Regions from separate parts of the Homo sapiens genome. Here region 1 is linked to region 2. The links are contacts of gene promoters, found by promoter capture Hi-C in blood cells and fetal thymus (Javierre and others, 2016). All regions are on one chromosome and are shown on one strand. Each heading gives the region's core, a stretch centred on a gene start or on the middle of the fragment in contact. The rest is flanking DNA. Distances are from core to core; before and after follow the strand shown.

Region 1 (2,864 bases), core at 271-2,770, 130 kb after region 2:
GTTCTATATTAATTGTAATAAATGCTTTAAAACCCTTACATCATTATCGACTGAATTCTCTATTTTCTTTTTTTTTTGAGATGGAGTCTCGCTCTGTTGCCCAGGCTGGAGTGCAGTGGTGTGATCTGGGCTCACTGCAAGCTCCGCCTCCTGGGTTGACGCCACTCTCCTGCCTCAGCCTCCCAAGTAGCTGGGACTACAGGCACCAGCCACCATGCCTGGCTAATTTTTTGTATTTTTAGTAGAGACGGGGTTTCACTGTGTTAGCCAGGATGGTCTCGATCTCCTGACCTCGTGATCTGCCCGTCTCGGCCTCCCAAAGTGCTGGGATTACAGGCGTGAGACACCGGGCCCAGCCTCTATTTTCTTTATAAACATCTTCACCCAAGAGCTGCCCTTGTTCCTCCCTTGCCACTTTCCTAAGTGTCCCTCCTTGTGCTGTTCCCTGTTTGTTTACACTGACTGAATATTCTTCAGGGACCTTGGTTCCCAGTGTCTCATCCTCTATCTGATTGGAACAGACTAGACATCACCTCTGTCCCAAAGCAGAGTATTCCTGGCAATTTCTAGCTCACTGGCATTCTCATCAATCTCCTTAGACAAACAACAACATTTGTAGCACAACTCCATGGACTGGTTCATCCTGAGAAGAGAAGGGGAGCCACAACCTCACCCCACCTTCTCAGCTGCTCAATCAGCCATTGCTGTTTCCCATCAACCCATACTTGCTGGGTGTCTACTGCATTCATGGTCCAGTACCAAAACCAGATGAGTCACAGCCCCTGACCTCTGAGGACTTATTTATGGTTAAATGAGACAACTGAAGTAAAGAAAACACGTAGAGCTTATTTTGAAGGCAATGACAAGTATCAGTGCAATGTTTAATACCTGGTTGTTAGTCTCACTATATAATCAAGCATCTGTCACTGTCTTTTGTATCTGTGCAAATAAATGTGAAAATTCAGACCATTTATAATACCAGTGCCAGAGCAGCAAGTGAGGAAGAAACAAGGGCATCTGTTCATGTATAATCCTCTCTCGTGGGAAGGGGGTGTCCAACCCAAGAATTGCTCTACAGGATTTTTGCTCCAGTTCCCTGTGGAGAAAGAGCTGAGCTGGCTCAAGCCATTGAGAACTGTGGAGCCAAGAAATCAGCACAACAAGGGTGAGCCTACCAAACCCGCCAGCTGGCTGCACCAAGTGCTCTGGGTCTAGCAGCAGCTGGGAGAGAGGGCAGAGTAGGTCATTTGACAGAGGCAAAAGGGGAGGAGAGGGGCAGCAAGGTGCGGTGGCTCAGCTAGAGGAGGAAGTCAAGTTGGGTCAGGCTTGATCTCATCCTTTCTCTGCTTCATGCCCACAGAGGCACGTGGCACTGTGTGCTTGCATCTGGCCACCCCTGAAGACTCTGCCAGGCTGTGTGCTCTGTCTCCCATGGCTCTTCTCTGTGCCGTCATCTCAGCAAAGCACATTCCAGAGCTGCAGTCTGACTCACAGGAAAGTGTGATCTAGTGTGATCACAGTGCTGCTCCAGATTGCAGCTGCAGGAATGGGGTGGGGGTACGGTGGGAAGAGTAGGGAGACTGTTCCAGGTCTCCAGTCTCTTTTAGGAACAAAAGTTTCCAGAGAAAGGAGGTCAGAAACAGGGAGGAAAAAATTCCATGGCTTTTATATAGGGCCACCTTGAAATCCTTCTTGATCTTCATGGATGACAGGTGCTGGAAAATCACCATGGCCAGGTTAAGACGCAAACTTAGAATGGTGGTTACACATAGCATAATCTGGAAAATTACTCTTGCTGTTTTCATTCTATTACCAAAACTTCATAATTGTCTGTACTCACATCCCCAGGCTGTTGCCATTCCATTTCACTTTTCCCTTTAAGTCTATCACTGGTTTAATATATAGGAAAAAAGAGCATGAAAACTTTCACAGCAGTTTTCATATTATCCGTAAGTTCACCAAGAAAGTTATTCAATGTGTATAGCTATAAATGATAACATGGGTCAAATGATACAGGTTGGTATTATCAAGTGTTTAAAGAGCGTGTACATATTACTTTCATATTATTTACACCTCTAACTCTACTCTGAAACTATTACTTTTTCAATCAGATAGCTGTAACCAAACACTAGATCAATAAAATGATAAAAGCTAAAAGAGACAAAGGGTGGAGAAATGGATCCATTTTCTGCCACCTACAAAGGAAGAAATGCTATGCACACAAAGACGTAACAGTGCAAACTGTAACAAATGCCAAAAATAAGATATACATTTAAATAAAATATAAAGACTACTACTAGTACTAAACATAATCTCTAACTACAAGGAGGGTCCAACCCACAATGTTGGACCATACACACAAATTAACTCAAAATGGATCACAGACCAAAATATAAGGGCAAAAGCTATAAAATTCTTAGAAGAAAACACAGAAGTATGTTTGCATAACCTTGGATTCACCAATGGTTTCTTAGCTATGACCCTGAAAACACAAGCAATAATAATAACAAAAATGACAAATTGGACCTCATTAAAATGATAAATCTTTGTGTTTCAAAGGACACTATCAAAAAAGTGAAAAACTCCACAGAATGGGAAAAAATATTTGCAAATGATAAAGGACTTATACAGAGAACTCTTACAATTCAACAACAAAAAATAATCCAACTTTAAAAATAGGCAAAGGACTTGAAAGACATTTCTCTAAAGAAGATATACAAATGGCCAATAGCCTATGAAAAGATGCTCAGCCGGGTGCGGTGGCTCACGCCTGTAATCCCAACACTTTGGGAGGCCGAGGCAGGCAGATGATGAGGTCGAGAGATAGAGACCATCCAGGCCAACATGGTGAAACCCCGTCTCTA
Region 2 (2,904 bases), core at 396-2,895:
GCGATAGTGATTTAATGGATTTGGGCCCGACATGGTGGCTCACGCCTGTAATCCCAGCACTTTGGGAGGCTGAGGCCGGCGAATCTCTTAAGCCCAGGAGTTTGAAACCAGCCTGGACAATATTGTGAGATCCCATCTCAATTTTTTTTTTGAGATGGAGTCTCGCTCTGTCGCCCAGGCTGGAGTGCAATGGAACGATCTCGGCTCACTGCAACCTCCGCCTCCCGGGTTCAAGCGATTCTCCTGCCTCAGCCTCCCGAGTAGCTGGGATTACAGGCGCACGCCACTACGCTTGGCTAATTTTTGTATTTTTAGTAGAAATGGGGTTTCACCATGTTGACCAGGCTGGTTTCAAACTCCTGACCTCAAGTGATCCGCCCACCTCAGCCTCCCAAAATGCTGGGATTACCGGCATGAGCCACTGTGCTCGGCTGAAAAAAACCATATTTTTAATTTAAAATAATAAATGGGTCTGACCAGAAATGCCTGCCTCAAATTGCAGGACACATGACAAAGCCCATTCTTACTTAAGACATTTTCAGTGTGCGATGGGTCTACCGGGATGTAACCCCATCGTGAGTCGAGGCCCATCTGCACCCTGCTATAGCTACTGGTAGATCTTACCTGTTTCCCAAAAAGGACCCAACTACTTTAGGTTCAAGGCACTTTTTTGGAATATTTAACAGGGAAAGAGCCTGGAACTAAAAACAGGTCTAACGCAAGATGCCGCCACACGATGGCACTGCTTCCGTAGACCTGGAAGAAACGCGGGCGCGGGAGCTGGCGGCGGACGCCCGGGTCTGCGGGGTCGGGGAGTAGCGTCCGGCCGGAGAGCCCGCACCTCGAGGAGCCGGCGGAGGACGCGGTGTCGTGACCGCGTCTCCCCCATCTGCTCTGCTTTTGGCGACAGCGTCCCGTCGGCCTTTCGGCCAGGACGCAGCAGCCGCGTCTCTGGGCCTCGACCCCCAGGGCCGGCCGGACCCGGGACCTCCGAGGAGAGCAGCGAGAACCGGCCCGGATTCCCCGAGGCGCCCGAGTGCGGTGCGGGCAGCCCTCCCCGCCTGCCAGGCCGCCGCTGTCCCCACGTCTGGTCCCCCACGCCTCTTCCCGCATCTGGTCCCACGGTGGAGGCGCGGGGCGAGGGCCTCACGCGCGTGCCCACGGTCGGGGGGCGTCCTTGGACGCGCGGGTCCTCTCCCACGGGTCTCCACCCCCCGCCCTCCGGCGACAGGAGCCGGCCTGGGACGCGCGCGCTGCGGCCAAGTCCTGGTTTTGATTTCACTCCCAACCCCGAGGAGCGAGGAGGTTCCAAGCCCACAAACAGGAAGAAGAGAAGGCCCTGGAGTGCTGGCAGAGGGAGTGTCATTCCCAGCAGCGCAGCGCAGGCCGGCCCGGGCCGGGGAGGGAGCAGCAGCGCGGGCACCCTCCTGCAACGTGGGCTGGGGGTCCCCAGGGCCGGGGAGGGGGCCCCGGGGAGGAACTGAGAGGGGGCGCGCCCCGGGAAGGCTCGGGGCGGCTCCGGGGGGCTCCCAGGGCGCCCCCGCCCCTTCCCCCGCGGCCCCGGGGCGCCCCCGCGGTGCCGGAGTCGGGGCGGGGCGTGCACGTCAGCCGGGGCTAGAAAAGGCGGCGGGGCTGGGCCCAGCGAGGTGACAGCCTCGCTTGGACGCAGAGCCCGGCCCGACGCCGCCATGAGCGCCGCGCTCTTCAGCCTGGACGGCCCGGCGCGCGGCGCGCCCTGGCCTGCGGAGCCTGCGCCCTTCTACGAACCGGGCCGGGCGGGCAAGCCGGGCCGCGGGGCCGAGCCAGGGGCCCTAGGCGAGCCAGGCGCCGCCGCCCCCGCCATGTACGACGACGAGAGCGCCATCGACTTCAGCGCCTACATCGACTCCATGGCCGCCGTGCCCACCCTGGAGCTGTGCCACGACGAGCTCTTCGCCGACCTCTTCAACAGCAATCACAAGGCGGGCGGCGCGGGGCCCCTGGAGCTTCTTCCCGGCGGCCCCGCGCGCCCCTTGGGCCCGGGCCCTGCCGCTCCCCGCCTGCTCAAGCGCGAGCCCGACTGGGGCGACGGCGACGCGCCCGGCTCGCTGTTGCCCGCGCAGGTGGCCGCGTGCGCACAGACCGTGGTGAGCTTGGCGGCCGCAGGGCAGCCCACCCCGCCCACGTCGCCGGAGCCGCCGCGCAGCAGCCCCAGGCAGACCCCCGCGCCCGGCCCCGCCCGGGAGAAGAGCGCCGGCAAGAGGGGCCCGGACCGCGGCAGCCCCGAGTACCGGCAGCGGCGCGAGCGCAACAACATCGCCGTGCGCAAGAGCCGCGACAAGGCCAAGCGGCGCAACCAGGAGATGCAGCAGAAGTTGGTGGAGCTGTCGGCTGAGAACGAGAAGCTGCACCAGCGCGTGGAGCAGCTCACGCGGGACCTGGCCGGCCTCCGGCAGTTCTTCAAGCAGCTGCCCAGCCCGCCCTTCCTGCCGGCCGCCGGGACAGCAGACTGCCGGTAACGCGCGGCCGGGGCGGGAGAGACTCAGCAACGACCCATACCTCAGACCCGACGGCCCGGAGCGGAGCGCGCCCTGCCCTGGCGCAGCCAGAGCCGCCGGGTGCCCGCTGCAGTTTCTTGGGACATAGGAGCGCAAAGAAGCTACAGCCTGGACTTACCACCACTAAACTGCGAGAGAAGCTAAACGTGTTTATTTTCCCTTAAATTATTTTTGTAATGGTAGCTTTTTCTACATCTTACTCCTGTTGATGCAGCTAAGGTACATTTGTAAAAAGAAAAAAAACCAGACTTTTCAGACAAACCCTTTGTATTGTAGATAAGAGGAAAAGACTGAGCATGCTCACTTTTTTATATTAATTTTTACAGTATTTGTAAGAATAAAGCAGCATTTGAAATCGCCCCTGCTT

The links. Contacts are between HindIII fragments. The CHiCAGO score rates a contact against its expected background, and 5 or more counts as called.
Region 1: a contact is called between a fragment that was not itself captured here and the fragment with the promoter of CEBPD in region 2, in 1 of 17 cell types (neutrophils). The highest score is 7.8, in neutrophils.

Annotation. Positions count from the first base shown.
Region 1 is chr8:47,608,911-47,611,774 of GRCh38, reverse strand. All of the region lies in intron 10 of SPIDR (scaffold protein involved in DNA repair), which reads right to left. Among named protein-coding and RNA genes, the nearest start is that of CEBPD, 130 kb to the left of the region's middle. RefSeq lists a silencer at 1,225-1,294. The HindIII fragment of the contact is 5,211 bases long and covers 1-2,864 here.
Region 2 is chr8:47,736,905-47,739,808 of GRCh38, reverse strand. It overlaps CEBPD (CCAAT enhancer binding protein delta), which reads left to right and starts at 1,645. Exons shown (of 1, transcript NM_005195.4): 1 at 1,645-2,896. The coding sequence starts at 1,689. The coding sequence ends at 2,498. RefSeq lists silencers at 817-1,286, 1,377-1,456, 1,497-1,606, 2,097-2,286 and an enhancer at 1,683-2,621. The HindIII fragment of the contact is 19,422 bases long and covers 1-2,904 here.